Regions from separate parts of the Homo sapiens genome. Here regions 2 and 3 are each linked to region 1. The links are contacts of gene promoters, found by promoter capture Hi-C in blood cells and fetal thymus (Javierre and others, 2016). All regions are on one chromosome and are shown on one strand. Each heading gives the region's core, a stretch centred on a gene start or on the middle of the fragment in contact. The rest is flanking DNA. Distances are from core to core; before and after follow the strand shown. Region 1 holds the start of PMAIP1 (phorbol-12-myristate-13-acetate-induced protein 1). Region 2 overlaps RELCH (RAB11 binding and LisH domain, coiled-coil and HEAT repeat containing). Region 3 overlaps PIGN (phosphatidylinositol glycan anchor biosynthesis class N).

What was found. The method cuts DNA at HindIII sites, captures the fragments that hold promoters and counts their contacts. A CHiCAGO score of 5 or more calls a contact.
Region 2: a contact is called between a fragment that was not itself captured here and the fragment with the promoter of PMAIP1 in region 1, in 1 of 17 cell types (naive CD8 T cells). The highest score is 6.6, in naive CD8 T cells.
Region 3: a contact is called between a fragment that was not itself captured here and the fragment with the promoter of PMAIP1 in region 1, in 1 of 17 cell types (naive CD8 T cells). The highest score is 8.4, in naive CD8 T cells.

The regions. Positions count from the first base shown.
Region 1 is chr18:59,897,546-59,902,055 of GRCh38, reverse strand. It overlaps PMAIP1 (phorbol-12-myristate-13-acetate-induced protein 1), which reads right to left and starts at 2,060. Exons shown (of 2, transcript NM_021127.3): 1 at 1,821-2,060. The coding sequence starts at 1,878. RefSeq lists silencers at 1,694-1,903, 2,054-2,463 and an enhancer at 2,220-2,971. The HindIII fragment of the contact is 10,069 bases long and covers 972-4,510 here.
Region 2 is chr18:62,189,828-62,194,337 of GRCh38, reverse strand. All of the region lies in intron 1 of RELCH (RAB11 binding and LisH domain, coiled-coil and HEAT repeat containing), which reads right to left. Among named protein-coding and RNA genes, the nearest start is that of RELCH, 4.8 kb to the right of the region's middle. The HindIII fragment of the contact is 4,209 bases long and covers 1,079-4,510 here.
Region 3 is chr18:62,171,099-62,175,608 of GRCh38, reverse strand. All of the region lies in intron 1 of PIGN (phosphatidylinositol glycan anchor biosynthesis class N), which reads left to right. Among named protein-coding and RNA genes, the nearest start is that of PIGN, 14 kb to the left of the region's middle. The HindIII fragment of the contact is 2,476 bases long and covers 952-3,427 here.

The DNA.
Region 1 (4,510 bases), core at 811-3,310:
AATCTTATTCTAAAATTAAGTCCACATTCTCTAAAATAATTTAAACATTTCTATTTTAATGTAAACCCACTTCTTCCTATAACCCCATTATGTACCAATCCATTGCCTTTATGGAAATGAGAGGAGCAGAAAATAAGCAATGTTTAATTCACATGTTTACTACTTTTTGGAATTGAGTTATTCTAACTGAATATTAAGAAAAATGATGCTTATAATTTCCAAGTACACTTTTTTTCAGTAAGTGCAGTTAACACTATACTGACTATAATATCGTATCTATACTGACTATAATTTCAATTTTCTTGAATATTTCAAAGAGCAGCTTGAGGTCTTTCGGGTACACTTCATGATTACAAACATTAAAAAATCATGATTACAAATTAAAATCTGGTCTATTTTATAAATCGACCCTGAAAATACCGTATTTAGGCTCAAAATAAATCAAAGCTGTCAATATATAGTAAAGCAAAATCTTAAACCTATATTTCAACCAATTTCTCTCTACAAGAAGTGAGTGAAATCTTTCCTAACTCCTACACCAAGAGACCTAATAAATCCCTTAAGGTGTTATTCTTTATGGGCTACAAGATCAAATATGTTGGGAAGTATTTACATAGACATGTTGTCTACAGAGATTGAGATATATTAATATACAGTTCTAAAAGAAAAACCAAATACCATTCAGCGTCCGACACTGGAAGCCCTGAATTCTAAGTGGAAAAGTTATCCCTTTCACCAAAAATGTAGAAAACAAGGCAGAAAATACTTCCCGGTCATTTCCTTAATTTTTTAAAAATTGCATTACACACCTATAAATGTATTAGTATCAATCAAATCAAGTTTAAGAGGGACTTTGTGCTGCTTCCTGTTCTTGGGAATTAAGTCGGACCAGAAAGTGCTATGCATAAGTAAGATCCTTCAGAAAGAAACAAGGTCAGAATCCTAAGACATCACAAAAGGTAGACAAAGCTTTTTCCATCCCACACAAGCGCCAGAGACAGCAGCCTGTTACCAACTTAGGCATGGTCACATTTGCAATGCACCACTTCCTTCGCACGCCCCAGGAGCTCTATAAAATGAAAGTAACTTAAAAGGTGGGGGGGGCGTATAATCGTCTGATGCAACAGCAGTATGGCCCACACAGACTTCGGGCTCTGGGCAGTGACTGGGTTCTCTGTTTAGATTTAGAAAAAGCATGGGGCCGGGGCGCTGGCCTGAAAACTTACGATGGAGCTGTATGTATCGGGGTGGGGAGTGCGAATGAATGAATGAAAAAAAGGAGCGGACTAACTCCTATTCTCCTATCCCCACCTCCCACAATATCGATTATTTAAATGTTACAAGATTTTCTAGGCTCCTGAACACAGGGGCCCTTGTGGGGCCGTCTCTGGAAGCGCTGGGAGTCCAGGCGGTCCCCGGGGCTCTCTCCTGCCCCTTCTGCCGCGACAATGACTTTCTCCTAGAGACAGCCGCCTACACTTGCACTTGTTCCTCGTGGCCCCGGGGAAGGGCAAGTGGCGAGGAGGAAAGAGAGGAGGAAAGGAGCTTTTTGCCCCTGGTGAAACGCAGCTGCATCCCAATCGCAAATCCGGCTTGGTCCCTCGCCGTACCCGCCGTACCCGCCGGTCCTGGGGAAAAACCCCGAAGAACTTTCTGGAGGCGCCCCTAAGGCTCGCGCCAGGGCACAGACCTGGCCCGACCTTGACCCCCGTGCAGTCTGTGCTTGAGCCCCGGCGAGCTGAGCCCGCCCCAGCCGAGACCTCGACCCCGGCCCCGACCCCGCCCGGCCTGGGTCTTCGCTGGCCCCAGCGGGTCGGTACCTGCTGGAGCCCGCGCGGGGCTCGGTTGAGCGTTCTTGCGCGCCTTCTTCCCAGGCATCTCCGCCGGTGCCGCCGCCCACTCAGCTACAGAGCCCGGGAACCTCAGCCTCCAACTGGAGCACCTCGGACAGCTGCAGGACGCGAGCTGAACACGAACAGTCCTGCAGGCAGGGATGCTGGGATCGGGTGTCCGGACGCGCGGAGATGCCAACTACACACGGTGAGTGCCCGGGAAACTCTGAGATCCCCGCGCCAGAGACCACGCTTTTGTCCAGTGAGAACTTCCCTGGTGACGTAGGGAAACTAGACGCCCGGCCCGCCCCTGTCCCCGCCCCTGTCCCCGCCCCGCAGACGGCGTTATGGGAGCGGACGCGGGACGCGGGCGGGGAAGTACCCCGCTGAGCGCGACCTGCCCGGACACGCTCCCGACCCGCGGCGGCGCCGACCCGCGGCGGGGGGCGCAGAGCGCTCGGCCCCGAAATTACTTCCTTACAAAACGAGGTGGGAGGAGAAGGGGGTCGGCTTTGACCATCTGCAAACGCTGGACGTCGTCAGCGGCAGTGGTGGCGGGAGCTGGGAGTGGCGGGAGCTGGGAGTGGCGGGAGGGGAAGGGTTTAACCAGGAGGAACGTTGTGGGTGGGGAGAGACCAGAGGCCTTGGCAATTAGAGACTTGGGTAAACAAGCCCAGAAAAGAGATTGGAAAAGGAAACTTTTCGAACTTGAAGAGTATGGGCAGTAACAGGGAAGGGAAATGAGAAGAACCTTAATCACCGCAGAGGAGATGCCAGAGGCCCTGTGAGAAAGCTCCGGGTCCCAGGAAGTCACTGCAAACAGAAGCCCTGGTGCCAGCCAGAAAGAACATCGTGTTTGAGTTGGGAAGGGATTTGTGTGTGTCCTTCCAGATAGGTCGATATCGCCCATTGTGGATGTTTAGCAAAAACGAGTGGATCGTTATCATATGGAAAACGTTCAAATCTTTTGTGGGAGGGCTGAGCTACCTGGGAACGTGAAATTATTTGCATAATGTTTGGCGAGGCCATGAGTAATTCTACTATTATGAAGAGGAGTAATTAGGAGTGGTTAACGGTTACTGAGAGCCGCTTCATGCTAAGGACTTTGACATGCATTTTCTCATTCCGTCCTCAGAACAACCGTTGCTACTTTACGGGTGCAGAAACTGAGGTTTGTAGAAAATTGCCCAAGTTCACTTAGGCAGAGAGCACTGCCCTGATTCCGAACCAGGCAGGCCCACAGAGAGCAAGAGCTCTTACCCACTGTAGCCTTCCCAGCAATCAGTTTCTTAGAAAATGTGTGTTTTCGCCGAACGCGGTGGCTCACGCCTGTAATCCCAGCTCTTTGGGAGGCCGAGGCGGGTGGTTCGTTTGAGGCCAGGAGTTCGAGACCAGCCTTGCCAATATGGTGAAACCCCGTCTCTACTGAAATACAAAAGATTAGCCGGCCTTGGTGGTGCACGCCTGTCGTCCCAGTTGCTTGGGCGGCTGAGGCACGAGAATCGCTTGAACCTGGGAGGCGGAGGTTGCAGTGAGCCGAGATCGCGCCACTGCATTCCAGCCTGGGTGACGGAATAAGACTCTGTCTCAAAAAAGAAAAAGAAAAAAAAAGCGTGTTTTCATATTAGCTGTGCTGTTTAATGAAAAGATTGCAAATTCGTTGCATGGGCTCCCTAGAAGTGCTTAGTTTGGTTTACAGTATTGGCCTTCAAAATGTATTGTAAAAATTTGAATTGATTACCAACATTTTAAACATTGAGGGATTGCATGAAAAACCCAGATTCCAGCATCTCTTGGAAAACCAGAATCTCTGACAACGTGGGATCCATTTTCCAAAAGTGCAAACTAGGTTTGAAGTGTGGTCGAAGCCACACCCTTTAGAGGAACCTAGGGTGCTCCTGTTCACCACACTCCCCGCTGTTTGCTTTTCCCATTTACATTATCTGGCCTCAGTAGGCATTTGAGGTTGTTTATTTATCTTAAATCATTCAGTCAACACAAACCAGCAAGTATTTATTTATGGCTTGGTCCTGCTGAAGGTATGGACAACAATATAAGCATGGAACAAAACTGCTCTTGAGTTTAAACAACATAGTTTCGAGGCTGATGTTGGCTGTTTTTGAATGGGGTATATACAAACGAGTAAAAGTGGACAGAATTTAGGAATCATCACAAGACGCAGGAAGCACACTGGAGATGCTGCCTTGAAATCTATTATCCCCAAGTGGTAATTCAAAACCACTCCAGGCTCATTTTGACTTACCTAATACATAAGGAACACCGTTAACTTTTTGGTTGCATAAATTATTAAATTTCTGTCGTTCAAATACGCACCCTGAAATGCAGAGAATATACTCAACAACCACCAAAAAAAAAAAAAAAAAGTGAATCACAACATTGTTTACCTATAAAAGGTATGTTAATCCCATCCTCTAACATTTTCATTAGAAAAGAATTGGTCATGTGACTCACACTGGCTACAAACCTTAGGCAACTCTGTTTTTTAGGGAATTGCAAATTCAGCTTGCAAGGAGGAAAAGAGCGGAAAGAAGTCGGGCGAGGTGGGTTTTGGACATGGGTCAGATTCAGCTGGTTTATAGAGGACTTTTAAAGATTTAGGATTTGAGATGGTCCATAAACTCTTTGGCAGATCTAACATTCTCTAAAGAGAATTGGCC
Region 2 (4,510 bases), core at 1,934-4,433, 2.3 Mb before region 1:
AACATAAATTATTAAAGAAAAAAACAGTCAACTGGATTTGATGAAATCAAAAGCTTTTGTTCACAAGACACACTGTTTTTTGGGGTTTTTTTTGAGACAGGGTCTCGTTCTTTCTCCCAGGCTGGAGTGCAGTGGTATCATGGCTCACTGCAGCCTTGGCCACCTGGGCTCAAGCGATCCTCCTATCTCAGCCTCTCAAATAGCTGGGACCACAGGCATAGGCCACCATGCACGGATAATTTTTGTATTTTTTTTGTAGTGACGGAGTTTTGTCATGTTGCCCAGGCTGGTCTCAAACTCCTGGGCTCAAGCCATCTGCTCACCTCATCCTCCCAAAGTGCTGGGATTACAGGTGTGAGCCACTACGCCTGGTCTGAGACACATCATTAAGAAAATAAAGGGAAATCAGACTGGAAGAAAATATTTGCAAAATTCACATTTGATAATGCACATATAGAGAACTCTTACAACTCAATAATGAAACAAAACCAACATGTAAAAAACCTTAATTTAAAAAAGGGCAAAATACTATCCCTGATGAACATCAATGCAAAAATCCTCAATAAAATACTGGCAAATCGAAGCCAGCAGCACGTCAAAAAGTTTATTCACTACAATCAAGTTGGCTTCATCCCTGAGTTGCAAGATTGGTTCAACATACACAAATCAGTAATGTAATTCATCACATAAACAGAACTAAAGACAAAAACCACATGATTATCTCAATAGATACAGAAAAGGCCTTTGATAAAATTCAACATTCCTTTATGTTAAAAACTCTCAATATACTAGGTAATGAAAGAACATACCTCAAAATAATAAGAGCCATATATGACAAACCCACAGCCAATATCATACTGAATGGGCAAAAGCTGGAAGCAATCCCCTTGAAAACTGGCACAAGACAAGGATGCCCTCTCTCCCCACTCCTATTCAACATGGTATTGGAAGTTCTGGCCAGGGATCATGCAAGAGGAAGAAATAAAGGGTATTCAAATAGGAGGCGAGGAAGTTAAATTGTCTTTGCAGATGACACAATCCTGTATCTAGAAAACCCCACTGTCTCAGCCCAAAAGCTTCTTAAGCTGATAGGCAACTACAGCAAAGTCTCAGGATACAAAATTAATGTGCAAATATCACAGGGATTCCTACACACCAACAACAGACAAGCAGAGAGCTAAATCATGAATGAACTCCCATTCATAAATGCTATGAAGAGAATAAAATACCTAGGAACGCAGCTAACAAAGGAAGTGAAGCACCTCTTCAAGGAGAACTACAAACCACTGTTAAAGGAAATAGAGAGAACACAATAAATGGATGCTCATGGATAAGAAGAATCAATATCATGAAAATGGCTATACTGCCCAAAGTAATTTATAGATTCAATGCTATTCCCATTTAACTACCATTGACATTCTTCATAGAATTAGAAAAAACTTTTAAAATTCATATGGAACCAAAAAAGAGCCCGTATAGCCAAGACAATCCTCAGCAAAAAGAACAAAGCTGGAGACATCATGCTACCTCACTTCAGACTATACTACAAGGTTACAGTAACCAAAACAGCATGGTACTGGTACAAAAACAGACACGGACCAACAGAACAGAAGAGAGCATTCAGAAATAAGACTGGATACTTACAACCATCTGATCTTTGACATACATGACAAAAACAAGCAAAGGGGAAAGAATTCCTTATTTAATAAAATGCTGGGAGAACTGGCTAGCCATATGCAGAAAATCGACACTGGACTCCTTCCTTACAACTTATACAAAAATTAACTCAAGGTGGATTAAAGACTTAAATGTAGAACCCAAAACTATGAAAACCCTTGAAGAAAATCTAGGCAATACCATTCAGGACATAGGCACGGGCAAATATTTCATGCCAAAAATGCCAAAAGCAATTGCAACAAAAGCAAAAATTGGCAAATGGGATCTAATTAAACTTAAGAGCTTCTGCACAGCAAAATAAACTATCAGAGTGAACAGACAACCTACAGAATGGGAGAAAATGTTTGCAACCTATACATCTGATAAAGGTCTAACATCCAGAGTCTACAAGGAATTTAAACAAATTTACAAGAAAAAACAATCCCATTAAAAAGTGGGCAAAGGACACGAATGGACATTTCTCAAAAGAAGACATTCATGCGGCAACAAGCATATGAAAAAAGGCTCAACATCACTGATCATTAGAGAAATGCAAATCAAAACCACAATGAAATACCATCTTAGGCCAGTCAGAATGGTGATTATTAAAAAGTCAAGAAACAACAGATGCTGGAGAGGTTGCAGAGAAATAGGAACACTTTTACACTGTTGCTGGGACTGTAAATTAGTTAAACCATTGTGGAAGACAGCGTGGTGATTCCTCTAAGATCTAGAACCAGAAATACCATTTGACCCAGCAATCCCATTACTGGGTATATGCCCAAAGGAATGTAAATCATTCTATTATAAAGATACAGGCATGTGTATCTTCATTGCAGCACTATTCACAATAGGAAAGACATGGGAATCAACCCAAATGCCCATCAATGAAAGACTGGATAAAGAAAATGTGATACATGCACACCATGGAATACTATGCAGCCAGCCATAAAAAGCAACAGGATCATGTCCTTTGCAGGCACATAGATGGAGCTGGAAGCCATTATCCTCAGCAAACTAACACAGAAACAGAAAACCAAACACCGTATGTTCTCATATATAAGTAGGAGCTGAACAGTGAGAACACATGGACATGGTGGGTGAGGGGGAGAGTATCAGGAAAAATAGCTAATGCGTGCTGGGCATAATACCTAGGTGATGGGTTAATCTGTGCAGAAAACCACCATGACACATGTCTACCTATGTCACCAATCTGCACACCCTGCACATGTACCCTGGAAGTTGAAGGTGAAAAAAACGGTGCAAAAGATTGAATAGGCATTTCATAAAAAATATACTAAGCAAAAGGCACAGGAAAAGGACCTCAGAATCATTAGTCATCAGGGAAATAGAAATTAAAGCCACAATGAGACACTGCTACATTCTCACTAAAATGACAGATTAAAAAGCCCAAAAATACCAAATGTTTAGGAGATGTACAGAAACTGGAACTCTTGTACATTGGTGGTGGAAATTTTAAATGGTCCATTTTGGAAAACAGTTTGGCAGTTTCTCATAAAGACGTAAATGGGAGCTTTCTTTACAATAACACAAAACTGGAAAAAACACAAATGTCTTAAAAGACACAAATTTTTTATCCCCCCCTTTTGGGGATAAAACCAAAAAGGAATGATCTAGAAATACACACAAAGACATAGATGACTTTTAAAAACATGCTGAAGGCAGATACACAAAAAAATACGTTCTATGATTCTATTTATATCGAATTTTAGAACAGGCAAAACTTATCTAAAGACGTAGTTCTCAACTGGGGCAATTATGCCCTCCCCTTCCCTGGGCAATGCTGGAGACATTTTTGGTGGTCATAACTGGGGTGGCATAGGTATGGGGGTGGTTGCTAAAGGCATCTGGTGGGTAGAGGTCAGGGATGCTGTTAAACATTTTATAATACACAGGCCAGCAGCCACGGCAAAGCATTACCAGGCCCAAAATGTTGAAAGTACCCAGGCCCAGGTTGAGAAATTCTGTTCTAAGTGATCAGTGGTGGTCTAGATGGAAGTAAGGATATTGAATGAAGGAATTCTGGGGATAATAAAAATGTTCTGTATTTTATTTTATTTACTTTTATTTATTTATTTATTTTTGAGATGGAGTCTTGCTCTGTCGCCCAGGCTGGACTGCAGTGGTGGGATCTCGGCTCACTGTAACCTCTGCCTCCTGGGTTCAAGCAATTCTCCTGCCTCAGTCTCCCGTGTAGCTGGGATTACAGGTGCCCACCACCACGCCTAGCTAATTTTTGTATTTTTAGTAGAGAAGGGGTTTCACCATGTTGGCCAGGCTGGTCTCGAAATCCTGACCTCGTGATCTGGCTGCCTCATCCTCCCAAAGTGTTGGGATTACGGGCGTGAGCCACTGCACCCTGCCGATGTTCTGTATTTTAATTGTGGTAGTGACTGATTTGTCAAAACTCACCAAACTGCACACACTTAAAACGTGTAAATTTTACTGTATGCAAATTTTACATCCAAGTTGATGCTAAAAAGTATAGTGCCTGTATAAGACTATGTTAAACAGTTTAATCCATTTTTTGTTTTTTAAAACACATGCACAGAAAAGACAGGTAAGGCAACTACCATTAAAGACAGGAAAAGCAAATACCATTGGTGGGATTATGGATAATTTTGAATTTTTTGTCCTGTTGTTCATTTGCTTAGTATTAAGTAAAAATTTAATAAACTTGATGTGTACACACACACATAGAGACAAACACAAACACTTATATATCCAGTACCTAAAACAGGTACAAATAAATGAGGATAATAGAAAAGCACAGGTGCACATGAATATTTAATTGTGATATTTGATCATAAGACTCTAGTTATTTCAAGAAAGT
Region 3 (4,510 bases), core at 940-3,439, 2.3 Mb before region 1:
AGCCCAAGGTGGGATGCCATAATGAGGTGAGAGAGGTATGCAGGGCCACGGAGGTAGTGGAAGAACACAGGATATTACTCTTGGAACAATGGAAAGCTACTCACAGACTTTAAGAAGGGAAAAGATGTAATCTAATTTACATTGAAAGGGAAGAAAATGGAAATTTTATGGGGAATGGGTTAAAGAGTTTTAACCTTTAATCTGAGTTTTGGGGTCAGTACCTGTGTATAAAATTCCTGAAGAACAATTAGAATGAAGTATAGTGAACAAGTGAAATGTTCTACAATTTGTAGAGTAAAATATGTAATTACTTTAGATGAAGGGAGAAACTTACATTGTGTAGTTTTCTGCAGTTTGGTAGGGAAACCATTTGGAAGTTGTTGAAGAGGTCCAGGTGAAAAATAATGGACTTAGGTGATGGCAGTGAATGTGGAGAAGTGAAAACACGAGTTCCTTTGAAAACAAAACTCAACTGGACACTGAGTTTTATATATATAATGACATAAACATTATATATATTAGATATATTAAATATATATATTTATTATATATAAAAATATATATTTATAATATATATCTAATATATATAATGTTTATGTCATTCATGTTTAGTAGTGAACACTGTGAGTCTGTAATCAAGAAATTTTATTAATTTGATTAGGGGAGTTGTTTTCAGATCCTCTTAAAAGCTTTTTTGAGGGGGAGGGGATTGAATTGCATGACAGTTTAAAAATGGTCTCATTGTCTCATAGCCATGATTTTTATAGGAACTAAGTAATTGTATAGGACATTCATTTTTCTGTTCAGCTAGTTGCTATGTATGTTTTTAAAAATATTGTGCTTACCTAAACCACTTTTAAAAATAATGCATTAGCATTAATTTAACCGATTTAATTAATTAATAATATTGGGAATTTAATAGGATCAGAGAAAATATGAATAATATAAGCTTCTATTGGATAATGCAATGGTTAAAAGTAAATGTGTCTATGATGGTAGTTAAGTCTTTATAATTGTTTACTCATTCATCTCGCCTAATTAGATTTTTACTGCTGCATATTAAATAACAGTATGAGCTGAGACCTCACTTCATGTCTCTGGCCTTCAGCTTGTTCTTTTGTGAACTCAAAGTTTGACTCAATTGCCTTTGCTTTATAATATGCCATTTCTTCATATAGGCAATAAACATTTACTAAGGAGCTATTAATGGGTCAGTCACAAGTGGAAGAATGTTGTGAATATAGAAGTGAATGGGAGTGTGTCTAAAAGATCATATAATTTGGTATGTAAAACTGAAAAAGTAAGTAATTACAGCAGTGAACTAGGAGCTACCATGGAAGTGTTTCTAAGGCAGACAATGAGAAGATGAGAAATGATCAGTTTTTTTTTTTTTTTGAGTTGGAGTCTCGCTTTGTCGCCCAGGCTGGAGTGCAGTGGCATGATCTTGGTTCACTGTAAACTCCGCCTCCCAGATTCAAGTGATTTTCCTGCCTCAGCCTCCTGAGTAGCTGGGATTACAGGTGCCCGCCACCATGCCCAGCTAATTTTTGTATTTTTAGTAGAGATGGGGTTTCACCACATTGGTCAGGCTGGTCTCGAACTCTTGACTTCGTGATCTGCCCTCCTTGGCCTCCCAAAGTGCTGAGATTACAGGCGTAAGCCACCGCACCCGGCCGAGAAATGATCAGTTTTAATAGTGAAATTATGGAAGGCTTTTTAGCTTTTGCCACCTATTTGTTGCTCTTCCTTGTGTTCCAATTGGAAAGGATGAAGGGAGAGAATTAATTAGGTGGTTGAATTGGCAGAATTTAGTGACCATATGACTATTCTTATTTCATAATGTTTAATTTATCTTTGTGAAGCAAAACTGAAGTGTTATCATTTACTGAGTGCCAAGTGTTGGGCTAGGTACTTGACATACGTTTATTCTAATCCTCACAACCATTTTTATAGTTCATCAGTATTATCTGCATTTTACAGGTAAGAAATACAAAGTTTGGGTAATTTTAGTAATGTACCTAATGCCAGAATCCGCTAAGGACATGATCTCCAAGTGCATCCAAAATAGACACCAAGGCTGGGTGCAATGGCTTACACATGTAATCCCAGCACTTTTTGGGAGGCTGAGGTGAGAGGATTGCTTCAGCCCAGGAGTTCAAGACCAGCCTGGGTGACACAGTGAGACCCAGTCTCTAGAAAAAGTAAAATAAAATTAGCCAGGTGTAGTGGCACACCTTGTGGTCCCGGCTACTAGGGAGGCTGAGGTGGGAGGATTGTCTGAGGCTCGGAAATTGTGCTGTTGCACTCCAGCCTGGGTGGCAGAGTGAGGCTACTGTCTCAAAAATAAATAAACAGAATAGACACCAAGTTGCGTTTTAAAATTTTGTAGACCGTAACCTAATAAATGGCTGAATAGAGTTATTGTCAAAATGCTTGTTATTTACAGAGTTTATTTGCATGATTTGGATCACCAATAAGAAGTCCCAATCTTAATTACCAATTTGGCAGGAAAATATATCTTTGTCTCTTCTATTGCTTTCTTCAGCATAATGTAAAGTCAACTATTTACAGGTTGATTTTAAAAATATGAGTTGGGTTGCTTCACAATCTAGTTATTTTTAGTATTGCTAATATTTTGTGTTCGTATGGTGTCATTGGGGAGTCTACTTATTTCCCATAATACTTCTGTAATGGAGTAGGGCTGACAGTGTCTTTTTTTATGGATAAGGAAACAGTAACAGTGGCTTTACTAGAATCCACTCTTATTATGTAACAGAACTAGATTTTTGTGTTGGCTATTATAACTTTAAGATGGTCAAAGTTCTGAAATAAAATGTTTTGTTACTTCAGTAAACCTTGGAAAATTTATATTATCTTTTAACACATAAACTTTGATACTTAACTTAGCAAAGCAGTGCAGTGGCAAATGGGACAAGAAAGAACATGAGCCCAGGGAGTTATTTGTAAATGCAAATATACATTTGCATTTACATTTACAATTTACAAATATACATTTGCATTTACAAATGCACATTTGCATTTACAAATACATCTTAATGTACTTATAAGTTAAGTACATTATTAGAGTACTAAGTTAAGTACATATGTGTAAGTACATATTAGAGTACTAAGATTTATTTCCATGATAAAGAGGAGGTGTTTAAATCAAAGTGAACATCTGTAAATCTAAATATGCCATATGTACTTTAGCTCTGGATAGAATTTAAGATCTAACTGAAAGGAATTAAGTACTTGAAAAATGACTTATTTTGAATAACTAATGTGATACTTGCCCTTAGACTGGATCCTGGACTGCAGGACAGGAAAAAGGGATAATAGGTAAATATTATGGACAATTTTAGTCAATAAATTTGACAGTTAGGATGAAATGGACAAATGGATAAATTCCTTAAAAACTACGAAAGCTTACTTAAGAAGTAATAGATAACCTGAATATCTATATGTGTTTATCTGTATCTATATATGTGAAGACATTGGATATATGGTTGAAAACCTTGTCACAAAGAAAACCCCAAGCCAGTGGTTTCATTGGTGAATTTTGTTATTCGATAAAGGAAGAAATAATACAAATTTTACACAAACTCTTCCAAAAAGTACAAGAAGGAACAGCATTTCCCAACTCATTGTCTGATACCAAAACCACAGAAAGATATAAGAAAAGAAAATTATAGTCTTATATCTTTCATAAACTTTGCTGCAAAAAATGGTAAAATTTTAACTAAGACCAACAATATGTAGAAAGGATAATACTTAATGACTAAGTGGGGTTTATTCTGGGAATGTAAGATGCGTTTAACATTTGAAATTTAATCAATATTAATTCACCACATTAACAGGCCAAAATATTAATTCACCACATTAACAGGCCAGAAAAATCAGATGATCATAATTATCTCAGTAGATACAACAAAAAGTATTTGACAAAATCCAACATCCATTCATGATTTAAAGCTGTCAGCATATTAGGAGTAAAAGGAAACTTCCTCAGCCTACTAGAGGGAATCTACAAAAACCTGGAAAACTGACAGCATTCATCCTAATATTGGAAACAAGGCAAGGATTTCTGCTGTAATCACTTCTATTCCACATCATACTGGAGGTTCTAGATAATATAAAAAGCATAAGATGTAAATAAAATACATAAAGATTGACAAGAAGTACAATTGTCTTTATTCATAGATAACCTAATTATCTCCAGAAAGTTAAAAAGCATATACACAAAAGCCACCGTAACAGTTGATCAGTGTTGCAGGGTACAGGGTCAATATATAAAGATCAATGTTGATTTAAGAATTAACAAGGAGAAATTGAAATAAAAAATAACATTACAATAGTACCAAAAATATGAAATTTGTAAAGATGGTATTTAAAAATGATGTACAAGACCTATTAATTTGAAACTACAGAACATTGCTGAGGGAAATTAAAGAAGACCTAAATAAATGGAGAGTTATACTGTATTCCTGGACAGAGAGACTAAATATTGTTA